Regions from separate parts of the Homo sapiens genome. Here regions 1, 2 and 3 are each linked to region 4. Evidence: promoter capture Hi-C in 16 types of primary human blood cells and fetal thymus (Javierre and others, 2016). All regions are on one chromosome and are shown on one strand. The core of a region is centred on a gene start or on the middle of the fragment in contact, and the rest is flanking DNA. Distances in the headings are between cores, read along the strand shown.

Evidence for each region. The method cuts DNA at HindIII sites, captures the fragments that hold promoters and counts their contacts. A CHiCAGO score of 5 or more calls a contact.
Region 1: a contact is called between a fragment that was not itself captured here and the fragment with the promoter of SEC24D in region 4, in 3 of 17 cell types (total B cells, naive CD8 T cells and non-activated CD4 T cells). The highest score is 7.2, in total B cells.
Region 2: a contact is called between a fragment that was not itself captured here and the fragment with the promoter of SEC24D in region 4, in 1 of 17 cell types (naive CD8 T cells). The highest score is 5.4, in naive CD8 T cells.
Region 3: a contact is called between a fragment that was not itself captured here and the fragment with the promoter of SEC24D in region 4, in 2 of 17 cell types (activated CD4 T cells and fetal thymus). The highest score is 5.9, in activated CD4 T cells.

Annotation. Positions count from the first base shown.
Region 1 is chr4:119,478,988-119,482,076 of GRCh38, forward strand. It overlaps the pseudogene SEPTIN7P14. Among named protein-coding and RNA genes, the nearest start is that of LINC01061, 70 kb to the left of the region's middle. The HindIII fragment of the contact is 2,457 bases long and covers 59-2,515 here.
Region 2 is chr4:119,530,990-119,534,166 of GRCh38, forward strand. The region is part of intron 11 of PDE5A (phosphodiesterase 5A); the gene reads right to left. Among named protein-coding and RNA genes, the nearest start is that of PDE5A, 96 kb to the right of the region's middle. RefSeq lists an enhancer at 1,125-1,734. The HindIII fragment of the contact is 2,764 bases long and covers 234-2,997 here.
Region 3 is chr4:118,267,236-118,270,444 of GRCh38, forward strand. No RefSeq gene overlaps it. Among named protein-coding and RNA genes, the nearest start is that of SNHG8, 9.9 kb to the right of the region's middle. The HindIII fragment of the contact is 3,524 bases long and covers 1-3,209 here.
Region 4 is chr4:118,834,190-118,837,459 of GRCh38, forward strand. It overlaps SEC24D (SEC24 homolog D, COPII component), which reads right to left and starts at 1,937. Exons shown (of 23, transcript NM_014822.4): 1 at 1,752-1,937. RefSeq lists enhancers at 1,293-2,184, 1,805-2,099 and a silencer at 1,611-2,100. The HindIII fragment of the contact is 6,235 bases long and covers 1-3,270 here.

The DNA of each region.
Region 1 (3,089 bases), core at 37-2,536, 640 kb after region 4:
GAACTATCACTGAGGTTATATATCAAGCTTGTATATATATCAACTCTGTTATGTATCAAGCTTGTTCAGGGCAAAGGAAAGAGCACTTAGAGGATTATACTGAAGCAAGCAGATTGCTCTCTGATTACCTCTGTAAAATCAGATTACCTCTGATTATACTGAAGCAAGCAGCAAGTGCTCTCTGATTACCTCTGTAAAAGGGTTCACCTTAGTCTTTTTTTCCCTCATGTAAGAGATAATGGAAGAACACTGATGCTGGACTTCTGTTTAACTGGGATGTATGGTGATAGTATAGAGAAAGGAGATTTCAATGGAAAAAGAGGAATAGACAACATAAAAAAGGGTAATTCATGAGAAAATTCCTGACTCAGCTGTCTTTGTTAGATGATAGAAGTGCATAACAGTTCTCTCTTAATACAGCATAATTAGTATGTATGGTTTGCACGCTAAGAAAGATGGCACAGGTGATGTCTACACTGTAATCTCCATTGATATCTGGGTAGCAACCCACAGCAAAAGACTTAAAGTGACTTTTCTCTCAGAGATGGCCAATTAGCATATGGGCCCTTTCTACTGTGAACACACAGTAGTTAGGAGAGTATGGACTTTGGAGCCACACCCAAGTTCGTATTCCAGCTATGCCTCTTACAAACTGTGTGATTTGGAGTAGTAACTAACCATCTCTGCCTTGTTTTCCTTTCTAAAAAATGGGTGTAAAATCACCTACCTAATGCAGTTATCATGAAGATCAAATGAGTTAATGTATGGAAAGGGGTGGCACATAGTTACTCCTCAGTAATGTTGGCCTCATTCCCTCTCCCTGCTTTCTGTAATGCAGAGAATTATCTTCTGGTAACTTCATTGAAAAGGCCTCTTTAGGCATGAAATCACCTGCCAGCTGTGCTGAGGACAGGCTTCACAGAGCTCCTGGAGGCTAATTAAGGTGCAGAGTTCAGAGCAGAAAGATGCTTCACTATACCTGTGGCAGGATGGCCACCAGGGCCTGTTCCCTGGCCAGAGTAAGCACTCTTTCCCTAGGGATTTGGAACAGCCCCATTCTCACCTGGTGTTTACCCCAGGTTTTGAAGAGATTCCAAACTAGAGCAGCAAGCAAAGTCTAGAGCTGACTGGGGAACCAGCCCTACCCTGGATATTGGCCTCTGATGAAAGCACCACTAAACCTCACCTTCTCTCCTAAATCTCTTCAGAAATGCTTACTCTCTGTGATAGACATGGAACAGATTGTTTTGCCTCAGGGATTTATTGATTGATTTTGCCAAAGTCTTTCCCAAGGCTCCTTTCAAAACTGGACTGATCCCTTGGTTCTGGGAATGAGTGGTGAACATCAGACCTCTGGAATGGTGGCTGGTCAATGTCTTTGCCCTCTCAAGTTGCTCTTGAATGTTGATTCAACTCATTAGGACATACTTGGATGATGAATTAGAAGGAGCATCTTTGCCCTCTACTTACAGATCCTAGGAACAATTTGTGGAATTATCAGTAAGCAATATCTGTAACAGATAAAATGTCTGCTTTCCCTTTGCCCCTCTTAGCCTATGACATGCCACATCCAATTTGTCTTCGTTCCAACTGTGAGAGGTCTTAATTTCATCATTCTGGCCTTTTGCAGTTAAATGTTCTCCAAGGATATGATCTATGGGGAGAGGACTGATAGTGGAACTAATCTTTCAAAGTTCTGCTTAAGCAATTGTAGATAACATAGGAGAAGAAACTCTGGAAACAATTATGATTATCCTAGTTCTGCCCCTGTGGAAATTCAATCCGAAACCCTTCATGTTTTTGCTTCTCTCTTCTCTACATGGATGGAATATGTTATACTTTTTTGAGCTGAAAAATCTAAATAATTAGAAAAAGACAAAGTTGTAATGAGTTTTCTGTTTAAACTTATAGGACCCTTTCTAATAAAAGTGTTATTGTAATCATTGAATCGTTAGTTAACTGCTTTGTATGGTTATGTCTTGTCTCTCTTTAATCCAGGGACTGCAAGCAACTAGGCAAAAAACTAACAAAAAAACCAATGTTTTATAAGAGTGGTTCTCAAACTTTAAAGTGCTGATTAAAGCACAGATTGCCCAGGCCTCACCCTCAGTAGATGGGTATGGGGCCCAAGAACTTTCAACAGGAGATGCTGCTGCTGCAGCTTGTCTAAGAACTACACTTGGAAAATTACTAATTTGTGTAATAAATACCTGACCATTTGGAATCCTTAGAGGATGGAAATATTTTGTAATGCTGTGTGCAAGATTTGATATAGAAAAACTTGGGTTCAAGTGGCAATTCAGCAGATTACAAGAGGTGAAACAACTGAGTTTCTGAGACTCAGTTTTATTATCTGAAAGTCAGGAATGAAAATAATGCCTATGTGGCAGAACTGCTATAAAGATCAGACAAGGTCGTGTATGGGAAAGGCCTTGGTAAATGGAAAAGCACAATCTAAGTGTAACTTATTCTAGATGTGTTTTCAATAGGCAAGTTTTATATACCTAAGACTAAAAGCTTGCATTTTAATCCCTGGGATTGAAATCTTTCACCATCATCACCATGATGGTAATAACAACAATAACAATACTAGTGCACTATTTATTGTATTTTCTGCAATGGGCACTTAATATGTTTTGATTATATATTTCAAAAACCTCATAAAATCTATTTTATCATGTATATTATTTGCTTACCTAAGAGTGTACTGGACAGAATTTAAATTTTTCTTGAGGGCTTAGGGCAGTGCAGTTCTTAGGGTGTGTGATGTCTCTGTCTATATAGATGATTTGATTTAAAAATGTGTTATATGTGATACATTTATAACGGAATATTTTTTGCTAAAAAGAAATGAGCTACCAAGCTATAAAAAGATATAGAGGAACCTTGGATGCATTTTTCTAAGTTAAAGAAGCCAATCTGAAAAGGCTATAAAACTGTATGATTTCCACCATATGACACTCTGGAAAAGGCAAAACTATGGAGATATTAAAAAGATCAGTGGTTGTCAGGGGTTAAAGGGGAGGAAGGGATAAATAGGCAGAGCACAGATGTTTAGGGCAGTGAATTATTCTGTATGATTCATATTG
Region 2 (3,177 bases), core at 366-2,865, 700 kb after region 4:
GCTTGTCTTAATAATCATTAAGATTTGATTCTCTCACTTCCAACAACACTGAAAACCCAGGATGAGAAAGCAGTGACCAAAAAGTTTTCCAATTTTTAGCTGCTTTCGTAGGAAGTTACTGAAAATGGTGAATTCCAGATTGTTCCCCATAAGTAGAGAACTGGTTATACATTATGAATAAAAAGTTTACACTTTTTTTGTGCTTACAAAATATGACATATTTTCCCCCAGTAAGCTTTCCACCTACCTAATTCAACTTAAGCTAATTTAAACATGAGTGTATAATTTCTTTTTTTTCTTTTTTCTTGAGACGGAGTCTCACTCTGTCATCCAGACTGGAGTGCAGTGGCACAATCTTGGCTCACTGCAACCTCCACCTCCCAAGTTCAAGTGATTCTCCTGCCTCAGCATCCTGAGTAGCTGCGACTACAGATGCATGCCACCACGCTAGCTAATTTTTGTATTTTCAGTAGAGACAGGGTTTCACCATGTTGGCCAGGCTGGTCTCACACTCCTGAGCTCAAGGATCTGTCCACCTTGGCCTCCCAAAGTGTTGAGATTACAGGTGTGAGCCACCACGCCTGGCCAAAAAAATGAGTGTATAATTTTTTGAGTGCTTATTATTGGAATCGCTAGTGCAAAAAGGCTTGGAACATCATAGGAACATAAAGATTTCAATGGTATTGCTACTAGATATTGAAAATTGATGTTCCCTCCCCCACCTATTGCCACTATGAGCAATAACTAATACTTAATGGAGCAAATGTACCAGGAACACATTTGCTCTGATTCTGTGAGGTAAATTCTTTTATTATCCTAATTTTGCAGAGAAAGAAACTGAAGCACAAATAAGTCACATATTTGCCTGAGATCACACACCTGGAATTTGAACCTAGGTATCTCTCTCTCTCTAGTACCCAATGCTCTCCATCTTGCTACAGTCACAAATATGAAAGCTGACAATGAAAATGTTATCTCAGTGTCCCTCAACATGGCTGGCTCTATCACCAGTTTGTAGGCTGTTTTATATATTTAATCAACTCTCAAATTATTTCTAGTTTCTTCATCATTTTAAGGGAAAAGAAAGCAAAATCTTATTAAATGTATTGAAGGAGCTTGATCTGTGTTTCTTTTTCCTTCATGCTAGATTATAGGCTTTCTAAAAGTCTGGGTTTTCCAGAATCCATTCATTGATTCATTCATTGATTCAATCATTAGACAAAACACATAAACCAAGTTCATGTTAAGCAATCACTAAATGACAGCTATTATTATTATCACCAAGAACTAACAGCCTGAAGGGAAAGATAGATACATAAATGAAATACATATTTTTTAAGTGGAATAACAGAAGGAAGTATGTTAGTAGCTTGCCCAAGTGATCCCTAACAACACAATGATAGAGAATGTGAGTCCACATTTTACTTTTTTCATTAAAGAGAATCTTTCCTGAGCTTTATCAATGCCTCACTTAAGACAAATGACAGCCCTTCTTTTGTTCAACTTTTTATCATTATAATGGCCATTCACACAACAAAAGGGACATACTTGTGTCCCTTTTACACAAGTATAGAGAGTGCCTTTTTGTTTATTCAATAGAGAAGAAACTTTATAGAAAATAATACATTTATAAAATGTATGGTCTCCTTGAAGACCATAAAGCATGTGTTTGTAGAAAATAATATACTTGGGTAAAGTAAATATAATGATCATTTAAAAATTATTACGTTTCTAATTTTTAGTGGATGCCTCATGAGAAAGGTCTATATTTAGGCTACAGCAAAGTCTCTGGTAACTTCAGCAGAAAATAAAGACATGTGGCTACATGGCTACGCAATTTGCTCAATTGTGTAATCTTTGTACAAAAAAAAGGTCATACTGCTATCAAAGGCATTCTGCTTGCCTTAGGTCTGAAGCGTGAAATCTTAAGAGCCAAAATAAAAATTACGGAAACTGGAAACAATTCCTAATAGCCAACTGCTAAGAAAAGAAAAGGCTCTTTATTCAGAAAGTTATTTATTAAAGTAGTGTGAAAAGAATGGCAGTAATGGAACTTGGTCTTTCATAAAATGTCAAATTCTTCCAATTAGCCTCAGTGTTGTATAAAGGTATTTTGTTATATTGCTCCTTGGTATTTATTCAATATAAATGGTCCACAGGAAAAAAGGTTTCAATCTCAATAATCCATTTTTAAAGAAATTATTTTTATTATATATTTGATGGGTTATATCAGTGGCTGTAAGGAGACATCTCCTGCCAGGTGTTTTAAGCCCTTCTTATTGGCTCTGACCACCACTCCTACCTCACAGGATACTTCTTAATGGAGAGCAGTTTAATTCCAGGTCTTTGAATAAAGCCACCTTGACAGCTGCCACATTACACCTTATGGAAGACCATTATCTCTTTTCTCCACTTTCCGCATGCCCAAGAGGGGTGTTTTTAAAGAAGAAACCACACAATTAGTTTATAAGGCTTTTAGAATTTATCTTTTTCGAAGAGGGAAGTGAATCCAAAGACAGATAAGAAAGAAAACTACTTTTAAAACGGGAATGAGTATGAAATTCAGTAAATCTTGCAGACAGTAAAGAAATGAATCAGGCACAGTGGGACTGGACTAGTATATTTTCTTTAATAACAGCATCAACATGTTATATGATTTTTCCTTTTTTTCTAACATTATATAAGTGAATCCCTTTAAATCTCAATAAGAAAGAGGCACCGACTATAGAAAGTTTTATAATGTGCTTATAGTTTTTCAAAATCATATAGAAAGCATGTAATAATGTTAAGATTCTGATATAATATGCATACATTTATAAGAAAACTTTTAGAGTAAATTTATGATTGCAATTGGGAATAATATACACAGATCTGATTACCATCTTGGTTATTGAGTTCCAAATAAAAAAAATGACACTAAAACTATGGTGTTTAGAACTATACACAGTAGTTAGTAAAGAAGAAGCTCAAGAACAGTGCCCTCATATTTTGGAGCTAAGCTTATCACTGGAAGTAACCCACTAGTAAAATCAAATCAAAACAGACAAGATTAGCTTGTCACATGAAGGCAGAAAGAATCAAACAGAAAATCTAGTAGGTCTTGCCAATGTGAAAAACATGTAGCCCAGTTAATGTTACATACATCTACAAAAATCAATGTCTCAATCGATGGTGTAC
Region 3 (3,209 bases), core at 454-2,953, 570 kb before region 4:
GTCTAGTCTCTGAAATAATAAGTGCTCAATAAATACTTGTTGAATTAATTTCACAATAAGTAACTGGAAAAGACATGACAGTTTTAACATACATATGTTCTTATATTTAAGTGCTAGAAAAAAGTATAACTTTTCATAAAAATCAATAAATTCGATTAACAAAAATATATATTTCCCCAATCATACAAAGACTTAAAACTGTCTTCTAAATAACAAAAAATAAATTCAATTTTAAATAATAATTAAAATTAGCAAAATAATTATTAAATGTAGGACAAAAAAACAAAACCTCTAACTTTTAAATGATAATTACCAGATAATTCTTATAAGTTATCCTAACAATAATACCAAAAGGAAGATACTGCTGGTTTCCTTCTACAGATGAGGAAACAGGTTTGGAATGGATAGATAATTTTCCCAAGGTCACACAAGTAGCAAAGCTCAGACTTATTTTATACCTAGTATCATTTTTCTCCCTTTACACACAACACCAGTTAAGAGCATGGGCTCTGAGCCAGTGAGACTACATTCAAATCCACTTCAAACCTTAGGTTAATTACATTATTTCTCTGTGCCTCAATCTATTCATCTGTAAATTAGAGACAATAATTGTATAGCGCTCATACAATTGTTAGGATTAAATGAGTTAATGAGCACATAAGTACTCAATAAACATTAGTTATCACCATTACTACTATCTCCCTTAGAGACTGTAAATAATTGTAGTCAGGTGCAGTGGCTCACACCTGTAATCCCAGCACTTTGGAAGGCTGAGGTGAGCAGATCACCTGAAGTCAGGAGTTGGAGACCAGCCTATCCAACATGGCGAAATCCCGTCTCTACTAAAAGTACAAAAATTAGCCAGGCGTGGTGGCGTACGCCTGTAATCCCAGCTACTTGGGAGGCTGGGGCAGGAGAATCACTTGAACTCTGGAGACGGAGGTTGCAGTAAGCCGAAATCTGCCACTGCACTCCAGCCTGAGCGTCAGAACAAGACTCTCAAAAAAAAAAAAAAGATACTGTAAATAATTATTTTCAGAACCCTTTTGTGTTATTTTATATAATTTACTTTCTTAGTCCTTTTCAGTAAGTTCTGTTCAGTGCTATAAAGAATGGTGGGTATTTCAAAATTCGTATGGCTTTTATCAAATTTAAGTCCTCAATTGCAGAGATTTCTTTCTAGACCTTCTGTTTTCTAAGAAATACTGCCCATTTACATAAATTATCATCCTGATAAAAGGGTTTTAAATTAGAGAAATACAAAAGTCACTTATCTGGTTCTATTCTACTTAGTTTTCTATAGTTTTACTTATATAATTAAGAAATAACTACTAACACGTCTTACATATTCAGTTGAAGGTTTTTTTAATGATTGTTCATTTGGAGATGAAATATATTTATTTTTCTCTCTATAGTGTAAGTATGACATTTATTTTAAACTTTTTGTTTGAAATTTTACAAAGATGGCAGAAAACAAATCTATAGACCAATCATATTCCTGAATAAAGAGGCACAATTCTCAACGCAATGTTAGCATGCAGAATCCAGAAACAGGTTACAGGTAGAATACACGGTGACAGAGTGAACTTTAAAGAGTGAATATGGAAAGGCTGGTTGAGCACTGTCCAGGAAGGTGGAAATTAATCTATTCATTTATGACTTTTTAAATAGACCTTTTGAGGGTGTATGATTAGCTACTGTAAAACTCACCCAGGTGAAGTGTACATCTCATAACTGCTGAGTCATTAATGGAATTGAATAGCCATCATGGCGATCTGATGTCAGAAGATCTCTGACACCCAGATAGAAGGCTGATAGACGGGGTTCCTCATGCCCATTTGAAGATAAGCCCTGCCCCCAACCCAGCCCCAGTCAACCATTGATCTGTTTTCTGTCACTGTAAATTTGCCTTTTTTGAACATTTCATATCAATAGATTCATACAGTATGTAGTCTTTTGTGTCTGGCCTCTTTTCACTTAGTGACATGGTTCTGAGTTTCATCTATAGCATGTATCAGCCATAGCATGTTTTTTTAAAAAAACTTTTATGTTAAATTCAGGGGTATATGTGCAAGATGTGCAGGTTTGTTACAAAGGTAAATGTGTTTCATGGGAGTTTGTTGTACAGATTATTTCATCACCCAGGTACTAAGCCTACTACCCAATAGTAATTTTTCCTGATCCTCTCTCTCCTCCCACCCTCCGCCCTCAGGTAGGCCCAGTGTGTACTGTTCTTCTCTATGTGTCTATGTGCTCTCATCATTTAACTTAAATTGGATTTATTCTTATATAGCATCTGAAGTCTTTTATTTTACGTTTTTGATTTTCTATTTTTTTGGAGATGCAGTCTCACTCTGTCACCCAGGCTGCAGTGCAGTGGCACAATCTCGGCTCACTGCAACCTCCACCTCCCAGGTTCAAGTGATTCTCGTGACTCAGCCTCCTGAGTAGCTGGGATTACAGGCACCTGCCACCACGCCTGGCTAATTTTTGTATTTTTTGGTAGAGACAGTGAAGACCTATTCCAGTTATAAATACTAACTAATAGGAATTAGTTTCAAAGTTTGCCATAGAATTTTTCTCTCTGAAATGATTTCCATTATAAAATTTGAAATATAGTCCTATTGCAGCGGGGAGACTTAATTTAAACTTTTTGGCAAAGAGAGAGGTAAGATGTGCCTGAGGCCAAAAGAGTTAGTCGACTTTGCCGTAATATACTAAGCTACATTCAAAAAAGTTTGCCAGTTTTGCTTAAATGTACTACCCTGCATTCATTTTTCCTTCTGTACATTATGTATAATTTCCCAGAATTCTTTTTCACTTTTATCATCCTGGCTTCCTCATTCAACAAACGTTTCATTGAGCATGTTCCAAAGTACTACTGCAGGTAAGATGAATATGACTACATTCTTGCCCTCCAGTAGACTGGGCAGAAATATTTTATTTCTCCAACAGAATCATTGTCTAGTTTGATATACAACACATTAACAGTGTATTAACTACTTCAGACAGTAGGAAATGAATTAAATCTCTAATTGATGAATTCAGTATGTTAAAAATCTGTATATCAAGTTCACATATTAAAAAGGTCTGGTGTATTCCAATGGTATGTTTAGAATATGCATCTGGAGAAAGTTGTTCCTTTCTGGTAGAACCTGAAGTTTTCAATATTCACTGTAGACATTCATCATATAAAACTAGAGTCCAGA
Region 4 (3,270 bases), core at 687-3,186:
AATTATTTTAATCTAGTCATTAGGACAAAGAGAAATCATAGTCCAACAAACATAGCAACAGACAACGTTGATAATGGGCTTATTTTATGAGTCATAATTTGACCGAGCCAGGTGGTCACTATAACCACTTGAGTGTTGTCAGTGGTTTTTCAAAGGCGACAGAATTTCTTTCTAATTTAAATCATATCACATCTCTAAGAACATATGCACCTATATTTAGGGGACTAAGGAAAAAAAGTGTAATTTTGTAAGTGTGTAGGCACACACATCACAAATATAACAGACTCATCTTGATTTTTTTTAAATCTTGATTCTAATCAGAACCCAAATTTGCTTTAAATTTTCTATTTTTTCCAGGTTTTAACAAAATAAGAGATATTTCATAGGACTGATGATTTAAAAAAAAAAATTAAATACGACAGAAAATGCTTTGAATGCAAGAGAAGTGGGTTTCCATTCTATGTCTGCCATACTTAACTGTGTGACATGGAATGAGCTGAAGAACCTCTCTAAGCCTCAGTTCCTTCTTTTAGAAAATGAAGCCTTTCCAGATTTCCACTGATTCTACAATTTATCTCCAGTTTATTTGCCCCATACAAGCATATTCTTCCTTTTGTTCTTTTATTTGCTACAATTTAAGATAAGAGATCAGTGATACCTGCTAAGACTTAGAATCTGTCTATATTCAAGAAATAACATTTCAAATTAAAAATTTGAAGCCTAAAATTTGTGATTTGATTTTGTTTCCATATTAAACTATAAGTTTCCAAAATAAAAGCAACCATGTAAAAATATTATGAGATCATTTCCTTCTCCTGGGAAGGGGAGAACTGAAAAAGAGGAGAGAGGCAGGCAAAGGCCTTCTGGTCCACTTTGTTTCTGACAACCCCTTTTTCCTCCTCCCACTTAGCAGAGAGAGACGTGGCAGCCTGAGCGCTGGTCAAGCTCATCCAACCAAGAGCACTTAGGAAGTCGGCACGAACACACCTAAGTAGCAGCCTGTTGCTGAGTGACAGAAAAGAGAGGCTGAGATGGTCACTCCAAAGAACAGGAAGCAGCCAGTTCCCTCTGAACTGGTCCTCAGAGGAATCAGCTTCCTCACGCAACCCAGTTTGCCACGTCAAACTTCCTCACACAGAGCACCAAGTTAAAGAAACCTGACTCAGCTTCAAGCGGCGACACGGCAGAAAGCCACTTGGTATAAGCAGGCCTAGGATCAAAATCTGGGGAGCCCCAACCCCAGAACGGCCCCCTGGCTCACTGTCACCCAGCAACTCTAGCCAAGGTGCACTTCTAACCCTGGAACAAGTTCGTATTTGGCCAGATCAGTTTCACTATTCGGATGTCCCGAGGCTTCAAGATATAGTTGCCATTTTTACCATGAATATTTCTAACATTTCCTTCCTTCAAAAAAGGAAATTAAGTTGATAAGGAGATGAGAAAACCGCTGGCAATGACACTCGAATGGTGGCCACTGAGGATCCTAACAAGGCAGTTCCTGCATCCCAAGGCAAAAGGTGGGGGCGGGTAAAAAATGCCCACGCCCACCTCCTGCTCCCCCATCCCGCCGGCCCCACTATTAAACTGCACTAGAAGGCTAAAGAACAAAGAATGAGTTCTCCTCCCGCCGCCACTGCCTCAGGTGAGCACCCGGCCTCCCGCCGCGTCCCCGGGCCGGGCGCCGCAACCCGCTCCGCTGTGCCTGGGCAGGGCTGTCCCGCATGAAGGCGTCCGCGGGTGGGAGGCTTTACCTGTTCCCGCTCCCGCACCCCGCGGGCTTCCGAGCGCTGGCGGCTCTGCGCCTAGTGCCGGCAGCCCTCGGTGGCCGGGCTCCCGCTGCGGTCGCTTCTCCCGCCGCGCCTCTTCCCCGGCCGGCGTCCCCTTAGCCTGGACTCACGCTCGGAGTTGCAGCTGGGCTGGGAACTGCCACGTCAAACCCTTTCTCGGCTGCGCGCCCCCAGCGCCGGGCTTGGACCAGCCGCCGCGCTCCCGCCTGCGCACGCGCACAGCCACCGGCCGCCGCGGGGCGGGGCCACCGGGCTGAGCCTGCGAGCGGCCGAGCGACCTCCCCCTTTTCGCTTTTTCCCTTTTTCCGGTTTTTTGTTTTTTGGTTTTCTTTTTCCCGTCTTTTCTTTCCCCTCCCCCTACAGGTCAAAGCCTTTAACGTCGTGGCTAAATCAGAACCGTATTTTCTCGGCGCAGCCCCGCAGGAAGGAGGGGAGCGCGTTCATTCATTCTTCCATCAACAGGTTGCAGTTTCAGCTCTTCATTCATTACGTATTACTTAAATAACTAATAGTTCAGGTACTGCACTACCGTTACATACGGGAAAGTACACGATCTGGACCTAGGGGAGATTACCGTTTAAAGGCGAATCTGGCACGTGTACACGCACATTTGATGACGTACCCGTGCAATGCACTACAGAGGAAGGAACGCCCAAAGCAGCCTGGCAACGTGTAACGCGGGAGGAGTGGGGGGTGGGGGAGATGTCCCAAAGGAAAAGTGTGGGAAGTGGGGTTTCCATTGATATTGGGGTTGTTAGCGTTGTGTATACTCCTTCTTCCGCATATTCCTTGTTTGTGAAGTAGGATGGCTGATCCCAGCCCCAAACAGGAATCTCTGCATGGAAAAGCACCCAGCGTTTAGCTCACCGTCCTGTGAGAAACAGCTCAGAAATAAAGGCAACCTATATGAGATCTGGAGCTTACCTCTCTATCTCACCCTAAAATCAGGACCATCTGGCTGGTTTCCTATCATCTTTCACTGCTAAATAGAAAGACATTCAGCCACTCCCAGGTTTGGTATAGCTACCACTTTGCTCAAACTTACAAAGTAAAAACCAGCCCGGTGTTGTTGTTTTTAACATGCACTTTCTTCCCGGCTACAAGAAAGCCACTTGACAAATACCTTTACTGATGAACTGCCTAGGTAAAAACGTACATGGGGATGTTGCTACTCCCGAAATGCTACATGAATTGTGCAGGAATTTTAAGTCATTTTAGCAGTAAAGATATATGGTCCATTTATCCCACTCTTAAAAGTTTTTAAGGCATGGGGCAAGGCACAGTGGCTCACACCTGTTATCCCAGCACTTTGGGAGGCCAAGCAGGGAGGATTGCTTGAGGCCAGGAGGCAGTGAGCTATGATCACACCACTGCGTTCCAGCGTGGGCAACAGAGTGAGACCCTGTCTCAAGAAAAAGAAAAAAAGATTTTAAGGTAAGATATCTGGCCTACATCCAGCTTCAACACTGATCAGGTTTGAAAA